Regions from separate parts of the Homo sapiens genome. Here regions 2, 3 and 4 are each linked to region 1. The links are contacts of gene promoters, found by promoter capture Hi-C in human tissues and cell types (Jung and others, 2019). All regions are on one chromosome and are shown on one strand. Each heading gives the region's core, a stretch centred on a gene start or on the middle of the fragment in contact. The rest is flanking DNA. Distances are from core to core; before and after follow the strand shown. Region 1 holds the start of LRP8 (LDL receptor related protein 8). Region 2 has its middle 6.2 kb from the start of DMRTB1. Region 3 overlaps CPT2 (carnitine palmitoyltransferase 2). Region 4 has its middle 26 kb from the start of DMRTB1.

Region 1 (2,939 bases), core at 1-2,500:
CCCCACCGTTCCTTTTCTCTCCCCGGGTCTGAGCTCCCTGGCCCGCCACTCACGGCAGTCGTCCTCGTCGCTGTGGTCTAAGCAGTCATCGTCCTCGTCGCATCTCCACACAGAGGGGATGCAGCGCTCGTTCCGGCACTGGAATTGGTCCTTTTCGCAATCCTTGGCCGGCCCTGCGAGGGGGAGGGAGCGTGAGCTGGATCAGCGGACTCGGCCCCACTCCCCACCATGCAGTCCGGGCCACCCGGAAGGACCCGCTGGGGAGGAGGAAAGGGGGCGATTATGGAGACCCCGGGGGCTTCAGGCACACTCCATCCAAAGGGAGGGCACGATGGCAGGGGTTCCGTGGATGTCGGGCCGCTCGGTGGCACGGCGAGACCAGGCACCTACTTAAAGTGTCACACGACCTGGGTATACCCTCCATTCAGACGCACTCACCCGCACACGCGACCCATAGTCAGAGATCTGCTCAGATACAGCCCATAGGGAGTCCCCGCGCCCGCGCGCCAGGCGCAGTGGGAGCCGCAGGCACATCACCCTGGCAGGCAGCCCCCTCTCTCTCCGCCGCGCGCAGGGGTCTGCGGAAACGCATTGTCAAGCGGAGAAGCCGCCCGGCTCTGCTCATTACCGCCGCGGAGCGCGCGTGTCAAATAAACCCCAACGGCGAGAATCACACAGCTCATCCGGAACCATGAATGGCCGCCCCTCCGGCAAAGTTCCCCGCTGGCCAAGCCCCCCTGCACCCCTCCCCCAAGATCCGCTGCCCAGAGGGCAGAGCCCTCAACACCGAGGCCCGCGGGGGCGGGGGGCCGAGGGCAAATTCAGGAATAGCCGCTTCGCGTGGAGCCTGTCCGCCCGGGAGCCCCCGATAGCCCCGGGTTCTGGACCCCTCCCCGCTCCGGCCTCCCGGCCGCGCTTTGTTGGTGGCTAGGGCGGAGCAGAGCCGAGTCAGAGACCGGCTGCACGCACCTTGGCCGCCGAGCAGCGGATCAGCCGCTGCCGCCGCAAGATGCTGGAGCTGCAGCAGCAGCAGCAGCAGCAGCAGCAGCAGCAGCGCCAGAAGCCGGAGAGGGCCCGGCTCGGGGAGGCCCATGGCGGGCCCGGGGCTCCGGCCGCCGCGCCCCGCGCTCCCCGCGCCGCCGCCGCCGCGTCTCAGCCCTCCGAGTCCTTGCCGCGGCGCCGGGGTTGCCGCTGCCCCCGCCGCCGCCGCCGCCGCCGCTGCCGCCCGCCCCGGCTCCTCGGCTGCATTTCAAGCAGGTTCGGTGACGCTCGGCGGCGGGGCGGGCTCAGGCTGGGCGCGCGGCCCCGGCCCTGGGCGGCCGCCGCCAGCGCGCGCGCTCCCTCCCGCTGCCGCCTCCGCCCCACGCTCCCCCTGCCGCCGCCTCCTCGCCCTCCTCCCTCCTGTCTTTCGTCCACTCTTCTCTCAGCGGGCGCTCCACGGCCCTGCTCTGGGCTCGCCTGAGTGCTGGGCTCTGCAGACGCAGGGATGGGCCAGGCGAGCCCCTCACCACGGAGGTAGCAGGTCCAGAGGAAGCAGCAGAGGCTTCCTGGAGGAGGTGACAGGCGGATCAGAGGCTGAGGGATGTCTAGGAGTGAGCCTGGGCGGGAGGGGAAATGATGTTACAGGACGAACAGGCCTGTGCAGTGTGCGCGTGGGGCGGGGGAGGGAGGGATAGGGGTGAGATCCCAAGATGTGGATGAGCAGGGAGAAGCTGGGGGCGCAGGGCTGGACCCCTGCACCTGTCATGGGCTCCGGCTGGGATATTATAAATCCCTGTGGCTGGTTTGGTTTCCGTGCCATGTGCATCTGTGCATGTTGCACGCTCATGTGATCATGGGGACGTGAGGCAGGTGGATTGGGCCTGGTGCACAGACTATTCATCGTCGTTAAGTACGCTCCAGGCCCCTAGTCAGAGGGGCAACCAGGGGGGGCCCGCAGGGAAGACAAGGAATCCTCGCTGTGATGGAGAAAGACGAGGTCTGTGGGGCGGGCCGGGCGGGGGGGAAGGGGAGGGCACGGAAGGGATGCCATCCCTGCCGCTAGGGGCCGCGCACCTAGGCCCGCGCTGTCCGCCCCTGCTGTCTTCTGCAGGAAGGAGAAGGCACCTCTTCCTCTGGAGGGCTGCAGCCCGCCTCACCCACACTGGGGAGAATGGGTGCGGAGAGCGAGCTGGGATTCGATTTCAGCCTCAGACTTGTGAGCCGGGTCCAACCCACACAACCTTCTTTAGAGAATGAGATTCCAGGGCATTGGCCACTCAAAACAACCGGCCTGCAGGTGCCAAGAGCCAGTGTTAGGTCCACCCTCCCTCCCCTCTTGCCCCTTCACCTCCCTCGCGGATGGGCAGGTGCTGTTAGCCCTTGGCCTGGAAACCACCCTGTCTCCTCAGCAGCCTCCTGAGCCGTAGTCCCCCAAAGGGCAGCCCAGCGGCAATATCTGTGGCCACCCCACCAGAAAGGGACTTAGATCCCCAGAGAGCCCGGCACGGTGCTCCTGCCATCATCACCCCTCCTGTCCCTTGTTCATTCAGTCATTCAGCAAGCATTTCAGGCCCTGTTCTGTGCCAACCCTGTGCTGGGCCTGCGGGTACCAAGGTGAATCAGGCATGGTGCCAGCCCCGGAGAGGTCCCTGACCTGTGGGGAGACAGACCATTAGCACACAGACAACGAAATGCAGGCGTCCTTTCACCTATATGTGCCAAACGCCCTTCAAGGCTCAAGGATACAGTGGAAACAGATAAGGTTCCTCCCTGCTCTCCTGCAGTTATGTCTTAGTTGGAAGAGATACACACAAAAGCAGGAAAACAAAAGATTATTTCAGGTCATCATAACTTCTATGGAAAAAACAAAACAGACCCAGGTGAGAGCAATGGGGGTAACTGTAGAGGTGATCAGGCAAGGCCTCACAGAGGAGGTGACATTTCACTGAATGGCAAGA
Region 2 (2,939 bases), core at 139-2,638, 130 kb after region 1:
TCATGCGAGTGAAGGTTATCTAACCACCATGATGGAGGGGTGTATGAACGTGGTACACTCTACCTGAAGATGATGTAACACCTTGAACATAAGCTACTGTGGAAAACTTGGTCTTCAGAAGTAGAAGGACTGAGCACACAAATCTCTTGTGCACTGCTGCCCAATAGAAATATAATGAAAGATCATACATATAATTTAAGATTTTCTGGTAGCAACATTAAAAGAGTAAAAAGCCACATCAAAATATTATTTAATTCAATATATCCAAAATATTACTTCAATATATCCAAAATATTATTTCAATATATAATATATATAAAATTATTGAGATATTTTGCATTCTTTTCTTCATACTATGTCATTAAAATCTGGTGTGTATTTTATACTTTCAGAACATCTTAAATTTAACTGGGCACATTTTAAGTGCTCAATAGCCACAGTAAATAATAGGTATAGTATTGGACAGCTGGTGTTTAATGTATGCTTGGAGAGCCTGATGCCACTGTGTAGCTAAATCAAATCCTGTGATTGGAGGTGGCTTGGAGTCAGTCAGAAATACTACTTATCTCTCACCCCCCTTCCCTTTGTCCCTTCTTCCTCCTTGATACTATGTAATGCATGCTAACCATGTGCCAGATACCAGACCTGTGCTGGGCTATTCAAATGTATTATCTCATCAATCCTACAAGAGTCAGGCATCTCACCTTGTAGTTAAAGTAAAGGAAATAACTAAATGGTGGCAATATGGCATAGTACTTAGGAGTTCAGACTTGGAGGCTATTCACATGTGTTTCTGTCACTTCCTATGTACCTTGGGTAAGAATATTTCTGAACTTTAAGCTTCAATGTTATTTGTCAAATGGACACAATAAAATTACCTACCTTATACATGTTGTTCTGTGGTTTAAATGAGGCCATGTCTGCAAAGTTGTAAGCATTCATTAAATAACAATATCACTAAATGGGATATTGTGCCACACTTTGGGATTTGCAACACGTTTTACAAATATTACTATTGCAACTGAGGCTCAAAGAAGTTAAATAATTTAGCTAAGGTTAACACAGCTAATAACTAATGATCATGTTCTCACCCAGCTTGCCTGTCTTTATAGTATTACTTGCCATCTGTTTTCAGTTACAAAATGGACCGAACTTGTACTGACTCTCTGACATAAAATGTTTAGAAAGGTTACTCGAAAGATAAATTATTGATATCTGTTTGCCTTTCTCATAGAAGCATAACTCAGGAAAAAGATGCTGGTTTTTTGTTTTTCGATAAATAGTTACTGTTTTCTAAGAAATTAGACAAGGAACATACACAGAAAAAAGAAGATTCAATTTAATTTTCTTTTTCCTTTGCTCTTTTTGACTGCTTTTACCAGAGAACAGTACCTTGTATATGGTAGGCATTCAATTCATGCCTCTTGTGTTAAATTGAGTTTGCATTTTACCACAGGACAGAGATATTAAAGGTTATATTATTCCCTATTAGCAATGTAGTTTATAGGGACGTGTGCCTCTCGTATTTTCAGAAAAAAAAAATTGAAATTTATAGAAATTTGATAGTACTATCAAAAATACATGTAATCAGCTACATATACATATTATGAAAGTTTCTGTGGGCTGAGCACAGTGGCTCATGCCTATAATCCCAGCACTTTGGGAGGCCAAGGCGGGAGGATTACTTGAGCTGGGAGTTTGAGGGTGTAGTGAGCTATGCTCGCGCCACTGCACTCCAGCCTAGGTAATAGAGTGAGACCCTGCTGCAAAAAAAAAAAAAAAAAAAAAAAAAAAAGAAGAAGAAGGAAGGAAGGGAGGGAAGAAAGTTTCTGTGGGTGTCAAAAAATGTTTGTTCATCCAATTAGCAAGTAAAAACAAGACAGAACAAAGGTCAGTACTATTGGGTTGAAGAGTAGCACTTGGAGCATGCCCTCTCCGCCAGGATGGTGTACTTTTCCTTTGCTCCACAGAATTGCTTGTTCCAGTCTTAATCTTCACAGCCTCTCCAACAGCTTTGGTCTGTTTGACTGCCTCATGCTCTTCTTTTCTCTCACTCCTTTGTCTTCCATCCATTACTATTTTGTGCCTCGCTTCTCTAAGATTCCTAGGAGAGGTCAGATGAATCTGTTAATGGTGTCCCAGGGTTAGAAGGAGCAACCCTGTCTGGCCCAGTGCTAGTTTGGGCCATGGCTAGCCTCAAATGTGTGCCCCACCTGGAACAACCACCTCAAGGAAAACCCCACTCAACTCTATTTGAATCTTGCAATACCTGCACGAGTGCTTATTACTTACTGTTTTGCCTGGCTCTGCCGTGTGATTTCCTCTTCTCCTTGGTCAATTTCCCTCAAGGACTCCTTCCACAGCCTGGCTGCAACTTACTTTTCCACCTCATTTCTCGCCAGTGTCTCAACCTTGCTGCACTACAGCCACACTGTAGGCCACTGAGCATGTGGGACACACTTCTGCTTTTGTGGCTGGCTACTAACCCTTTAGGCATCAGCTTAGAAATCAGCCCCTCAGGGAAGTCTTTTTGATTTCTCAAGCCAGTTTAGGATTCCATATGGGTTCTGAAAACCTGACTTTTATTACTCTGGAATTACTTGTTCACCAAGTAATTGGATTGCCAGCTAGAATGTAGGCCTAAAGGCAAGGATCCTGTCTTTTTACTTAACTTCTGCATGCCTTATGCTTAGCACATGGTTGGCACTCAATAAATATTGACCATGGATAGAGAAAAGCAGCTAAGCAGGGCATCCTAGGAAGTTTCTCCAGGTTGGTACCCCCTTTACCCCCCTTTGCTCCAACTATAATATATAATGATACAAACATTTCTATTCATCACCGAAGCTTTCTTGGGGAGATCACTGTTTGGTTTAGAAGAAATATTTGGGTTAGCAAATATATGGTTAATAACATAGACTCTGACGTTAGATTTCCTG
Region 3 (2,939 bases), core at 158-2,657, 110 kb before region 1:
GAGGTTGAAGCAGAATTGCTTGAACCCAGGAGGTGGAGGTTGCAGTGAGCTGAGATCACACCACTGCACTCCGGCCTGGGCGACAGAGCGAGACTGTCTCAAAAAAACAAAAAAGAAAAAAAAACTGGGGCCTGTGTAGCCAGTGGGTGCTATTCTGTGAAACTAATCATAAGCTGCCTAGGCAGCCAGCTACAGGCTTGAGCTTTAAATTCATGGTTTTAAAGCTAAACGTAATTTCCACTTGGGACTAGATCACAACTGAAGATAACAAGAGATTTAAGTTTTAAGGGCATTTAATCAGGAGGAAAGGTTTGGAAAACTAACTCAGGTGTATTTATTGTTTAAGCAGAAATAAAGTTTAATTTTTGCTTGAAGATGGTTCTTAATTTCTTTTAACCTAATTCCTAATCCTCACAAAGATCTTTCCAACAGCAAGTTCAGTAAGTTCAGGTAACAGTACGTCACCATTGGCTTCTGGCTCATTGAGTGATGGTGGGATCGCGGTTTCATCTCTGTAAACTTGCCCTTGACTGGGGAGATACCATCTCCTTAAAAATACTCTTCATTTTCCTAAGGAGTGAACTGCTGCTGCACGAATTCTTATTTGTGGAGGGAGTAGCTGCCTCCTTACTTCACCTTCATGCACCAGTGCAGCGTGAACAGGGGCTTTATTGATGGGGCTTGGGAAGCTGTAATAAAGTCCAGCATGCAGATTGTGAAGGTTTCGTATAGCCACCAGGAGACAAGGGTCAAAGGAACGAGCCTCTGTGGGCTCTGCTGCTTAGAGTACTTTGTCCTTTCTCAGTTCTTAAGGGCAACTGGGAAGGAAGAGGGATCAGCACTTCACAAACTGGTGGGTGACCTCATAGATTCCCACAGACTCCTGGGCCTTTTCATCATAGTCAGTCCAGTCCTGGGAAACAAAATGGCATTGTTAGCCTCACAACGCAGAATGCAGCCATGTGGAGAGCAGAAAACTGGGACTTAAAAGGCCCAGCTCAGGCTCTGACTCAAATAATCATGAACATGTATGACCCTGAACAGAGCCAGATAGCTCAGGCCTGAATTCTAGCTCTTTCAGTTGTATGACTGTGGGCAAATCACTTAACTTCTCTGAGTCCCTTCTCCGAGTCCTGTCTTCTATTTAAAAAAAACAAAAACAAAAAAAGGACAATGGAGTTCATATTGAATGTTGAAAGAATCAAATGAGGTAACACATTTAAAAGCACTCAGCAGCCGGGCGTGGTGGCTCATGCCTGTAATCCCAGCACTTTGGGAGGCCAAGGCAGGTGGATCATTTCAGGTCAGGGGTCCGAGACCATCCTGGCCAACAAGGTGAAACCCGGTCTCTACTAAAAATACAAAAAATAGCCAGGAATGGTGGCAGGCGCCTGTAATCCCAGCTACTTGGGAGGCTGAGGTAGGAGGATCACTTGAGCCCAGGAGGCAGAGGTTGCAGTGAGCTGACATTGCACCACTGCACTCCAGCCTGGGCGACAGAGTGAGATTGTCTCAAAAAATACATAAAATAAAATAAAAGCACTCAGCATAGTGAGTGCCTGGCACATGTAAGAGCTCAGTAGATGCTAGCTGCTGTTATTAGGTGCTGAGCAAATGAAATGAAGTTTTTGTCCTTCCTTCAAGGCTTGAGCACAAGGCTTTTCTATCTGCAGGGTAGTAATATGTCCAGTAATACAGACTATTTCTTGTTCTTCATGGTAGTTAGGTGCAGTAAAGCCACCACAAACACTGAATTAGGGAATACTGAATGAATACTCCCCGGGGAAATACAGGGTTAGGTTCCTATGAGCCTCTGGTCACATTTTCATCAACCAATCAATAATCTAGCTTTATGTGTTTCTGTTTAAAGATAACTTATTTAATATATATTGTTGATTCATGAACTCACAGCCAGCAGCACTATAGCTCATGCCTGAATAAAGCTTATCTAACACGTATTCTCTCTGTAAGGGGCATCATAGCTTTCTCATACGTAGGAACATTAGAAAGCACTTTAGCACTATACCTGTGGCCATTTCAACAGCAAAATCACTAACAAAAAGCACAAAAATACAGAGTTGGCTTTCCATTGATGAGCCTTGTCCACCAAAAAAATAATTCCCACCAGGTGCCCTACAGTACCTCCCAAAGCCCCCAAGTCTCATACCTTCTCCTGCAGATTAATGTCACTGAAGGCTGTCCCTGACTCCACACCTTCAGCAGCAAACCCAGCCTGCAGGGCACAAGAAGGTACCAGTTAGTCTTGGCAAAAGAAGGCATTGGGCTATAAGTAAGGGCCGGCCAGGCTGCTGGCTCTTCTCACACTTCTGGGATGGAGGACAGAGATGCAGTATGAGTACCTGTCTTGGAATAACTGCTGAGCTTCCAGGACCCGGCAGCTGCCTCAGAACTAGAGTGGTGGTTTCTCTGAATTACAGCCTTGGACCAGAAGGCAGCAGGGGCAGCGTAATCCCTTCCACTAGCCCTGGTTTGCTGAAGGCTCCTGGGCATGTCATTTCCCAGGTTGGACCTTAGTTATTGATAAAACGGGGATGAAGTATTTGCTCTTCTGCCTACCTCACAGATTTGTTGTGAGGTGAAACATGCACAAATAAAGGGGGATGAGCACCAGCTCAAGTCAGATAGATCTGGGTTGAAACTATAGCTCCACTGCTTACTGTGTGACCCTGAGCAAGTTGCAAAATCTCTTCAGTTCCTTCCTCATCTGAAGAACAGGATGAATAAATTCATAGGGTTACCATAAGAATTAAATGTGGTAACATGTAAAAATGATGGCATGGGTGCCCAAGCATACAGCAGCCACTTAAGGGACAATTATTACTACCGCTAGAAAGGAGAATGTCTAGTCCATGGTATCTGTAGGTAGCACAGTTCTGGCTGTCACTTCATACATCCCCTCCCCAAAGACAAAGATTCCC
Region 4 (2,939 bases), core at 119-2,618, 110 kb after region 1:
CTCAAAGGACAGATCAATGGATGAGATTACAGCTATCATGAAATTAATTTCATATACTTGAGAAAGCTACTTTAATCACCACCTGGAGGAAAAGATAAATAGCCTGATACCACTTCCTTAGCTGTAGGAACTAAGATTAGAGGAAAAAATTGTGATAAAGCCTCTCGTTGAAGCTGCAATACCACACACACACACACACACACACACACAAGCAAAAGTGCTGCATTTATGATCAGTCCCTTCAAGTTAGAACTGAGGCACTGACCTGGTGAGCAAATGACTTAAATATTAAATTAAATATTGACTATTTTGCAGTTTATTTCTAGACAATTTTGCCATAGGTTTTCCACAATTGAGACACACTGCAAACTCCTCATTGGTACAAAATGAGGAAAGCTTTACAGTACATATAAATAGAATTTTTTTTTTTGAGATGGGGGATCCTCCCACGTCAGCCACCTCAGCCTTCTGAGTAACTGGGACTACAGCCGTGCACCACGATGCCTGGCTAATTTTTTTTTTTTTTTTTTTTTTTTTTGGTAGAGACAGGGTTTTGCCATGTTGCCCAAGATGGTCTCAAACTCCTGGGCTCCAGTGATCTATCTGCCTCAGGCTTGCAAAGTGCAGGGATTACAAGCCGGCACCACTGCACCCAGCCTGAAATTTTTTTAAGAAATAATTTCAAGGTACTATAAAAAACAATTTAAGAAAATGATAGTCATTGGTTCTATCAAGGTGCTGAGCTGGAGTAATGAAGAACATGTGGACTTTGATTCAGACTATATCACTCATTAGCTACATGACTTTGAGCAAGTTATCTAGCATCTGAGTCTTAGTTTTATAGAGAAACAAGAATTGTGATTGTCAAGCGTGTCCATGTGAAGAGAGTCCACAACAGGCTTTGTGTGAACAATAAAGCTTTTTAATCACCAGGGTGCAGGCGGGCTGACTCCTTTTTCAGACTCAGCCCACCTGCACCAGGTGATTAAAAAGCTTTATTGCTCACACAAATCCTGTTGGTGGACTCTCTTCACACGGATGCACTTGACATTTTGTGCTGAAGACCCAGGACAGGAGGACTCCTTCGAGAGACCAGTCCCCCATCCTTGCCCTCACTCGGTGAGGAGATCTACCTATGACCTCAGGTCCTCAGACCAACCAGCCCAAGGAACATCTCACCAATTTCAGATCGGGTAAGCGGTCGTTTCACTCCCTTCTCCAACCTCTCTCACTATCCCTCCACCCTTCAATCTCTCCCTTCCTTAATTTTGGTTCCTTTTCCCCTTTCTGGTAGAGACAGAGGAGATGCATTTTATCTGTGAACTCAAAACTCCAGCGCTGGTCACAGACTCGGGAAGACAGTCTTCCCTTGGTGTTTAATCACTGCGGGGACGCCTGCCTGATTATTCACCCACATTTCAGAGGTGTCTGATCACCATGGGGATGCCTGCCTTGATCCTTCACCTTGGTGGCAAGTACCACCCCCCGCCCTCTGTGTCTCTACCCTCTCTTTTCTCTAAACTTACCCTTTTACTATGGGCAACCTTCTGCCCTCCATTCCTCCTTCTTCTCCCTTGGCCTTTGTTCTAAAAAACTTAAAACCTCTTCAACTCCCACCTGATCTAAAACCTAAGCGTCTTATTTTCTTCTGCAACACTGCTTGGCCCCAATACAAACTTGGTAATGGCTCCACATAGTCAGAAAATGGCACTTTCGATTTTCTCCATCCTACAAGATCTAGATAATTTTTTTCAAAAAATGGGCAAATGGTCTGAGGTGCCTGATATCCAGGCATTCTTTTATACATTGGTCCCTCCCTAGTCTCTGCTCCCAATGTGACTGTCCCAAATCTTTCTTGTTTTTCTCCCGTCTGTTCCTTCAGTCTCCACCCCAAGCTCTGAGTCCTTTGAATCTTCCTTTTCTACAGACCCACCTAACCTCTCCCCTCCACCCCAGGCTGCTCCTCGCCAGGCCGAGCCAGGTCCCAATTCTTCCTCAGCCTCCACTCCCCCACCCTGTAATCCTTCTATCACCTCCCCTCCTCATACCCAGTCTGGCTTACAATTTTGTTCCACAACTTGCCCTCCCCCACCTGCCCAACAATTTCCTCTTAGAGAAGTGGCTGGAGCTGAAGGCATAGTCAAGGTTAATGCTCCTTTTTCTTTAGCCAACCTCTCCCAAATCAGTTAGCGTTTAGGCTCTTTTTCATCAAGTATAAAAACCCAGCCCAGTTCATGGCCCATTTGGCAACAACCCTTAGACGCTTTACTGCCCTAGACACAGAGGGGCCAGAAGGCCGTCTTATTCTCAATATGCATTTTATTACCCAATCCACTCCTGACATTAGAAAAAGCTCCAAAAATTAAGATTCTGGCCCTCAAACCCCACAACAGGACTTAATTAACCTCGCCTTCAAGGTGTACAATAATAGAGGCAGCCAAGTGGCCACGTATTTCTGAGTTGCAATTCCTTGCCTCCACTGTAAGACAAACCCCAGCCACATTTCCAGCACACAAGAACTTCAAAAACCTAAACCATAGCAGCCAGGCATTCCTCCAGGACCTCCTCCCCCAGGATCTTGCTTCAAGTGCCAGAAATCTGGCCACTGGGCCAAGGAATGCCCGCAGCCCAGGATTCCTCCTAAGATGTGTCCCATCTGTGTGGGACCCCACTGGAAATTGGACTGTCCAGCTCTCCCAGCAGCCACTCCCACAGCCCCTGGAACTGTGGCCTAAGGCTCTCTGACTCCTTTCCAGATCTTCTCAGCTTAGCGGCTGAAGACTGACGCTGCCCGATTGATTGCCTGGGAAGCCTCCTGGACCATCACAGACGCCTTGGGTAACTCTTACAGTGGAGGACAGGAATGTCAGGCCGGCCTCTGAGCCCAAGCATGCATGTATACATCCAGATGGCCTGAGGCAACTGAAGAACCACAAAAG

The links. The method cuts DNA at HindIII sites, captures the fragments that hold promoters and counts their contacts. A contact is called where the count stands out against the background at its distance.
Region 2: a contact is called between a fragment that was not itself captured here and the fragment with the promoter of LRP8 in region 1, in 5 of the 25 tissues and cell types used here (H1 embryonic stem cells, IMR-90 fibroblasts, mesendoderm cells and 2 more).
Region 3: a contact is called between a fragment that was not itself captured here and the fragment with the promoter of LRP8 in region 1, in 2 of the 25 tissues and cell types used here (H1 embryonic stem cells and aorta).
Region 4: a contact is called between a fragment that was not itself captured here and the fragment with the promoter of LRP8 in region 1, in 6 of the 25 tissues and cell types used here (H1 embryonic stem cells, IMR-90 fibroblasts, bladder and 3 more).

The regions. Positions count from the first base shown.
Region 1 is chr1:53,326,820-53,329,758 of GRCh38, forward strand. It overlaps LRP8 (LDL receptor related protein 8), which reads right to left and starts at 1,251. Exons shown (of 19, transcript NM_004631.5): 1 at 970-1,251; 2 at 54-173. The coding sequence starts at 1,093. LRP8-DT (LRP8 divergent transcript) reads left to right here and starts at 1,414. Exons shown (of 3, transcript NR_131923.1): 1 at 1,414-1,556. RefSeq lists silencers at 1-232, 748-917, 968-1,117, 1,188-1,387 and enhancers at 298-407, 1,458-1,687. The HindIII fragment of the contact is 17,458 bases long and covers 1-2,939 here.
Region 2 is chr1:53,451,765-53,454,703 of GRCh38, forward strand. No RefSeq gene overlaps it. Among named protein-coding and RNA genes, the nearest start is that of DMRTB1, 6.2 kb to the right of the region's middle. The HindIII fragment of the contact is 6,261 bases long and covers 1-2,939 here.
Region 3 is chr1:53,213,824-53,216,762 of GRCh38, forward strand. It overlaps CPT2 (carnitine palmitoyltransferase 2), which reads left to right. Exons shown (of 5, transcript NM_000098.3): 5 at 1-374. CZIB (CXXC motif containing zinc binding protein) reads right to left here. Exons shown (of 8, transcript NM_017887.3): 7 at 2,168-2,233; 8 at 276-913. The coding sequence ends at 836. Among named protein-coding and RNA genes, the nearest start is that of CZIB-DT, 5.1 kb to the right of the region's middle. The HindIII fragment of the contact is 7,476 bases long and covers 1-2,939 here.
Region 4 is chr1:53,431,936-53,434,874 of GRCh38, forward strand. No RefSeq gene overlaps it. Among named protein-coding and RNA genes, the nearest start is that of DMRTB1, 26 kb to the right of the region's middle. The HindIII fragment of the contact is 3,885 bases long and covers 1-2,939 here.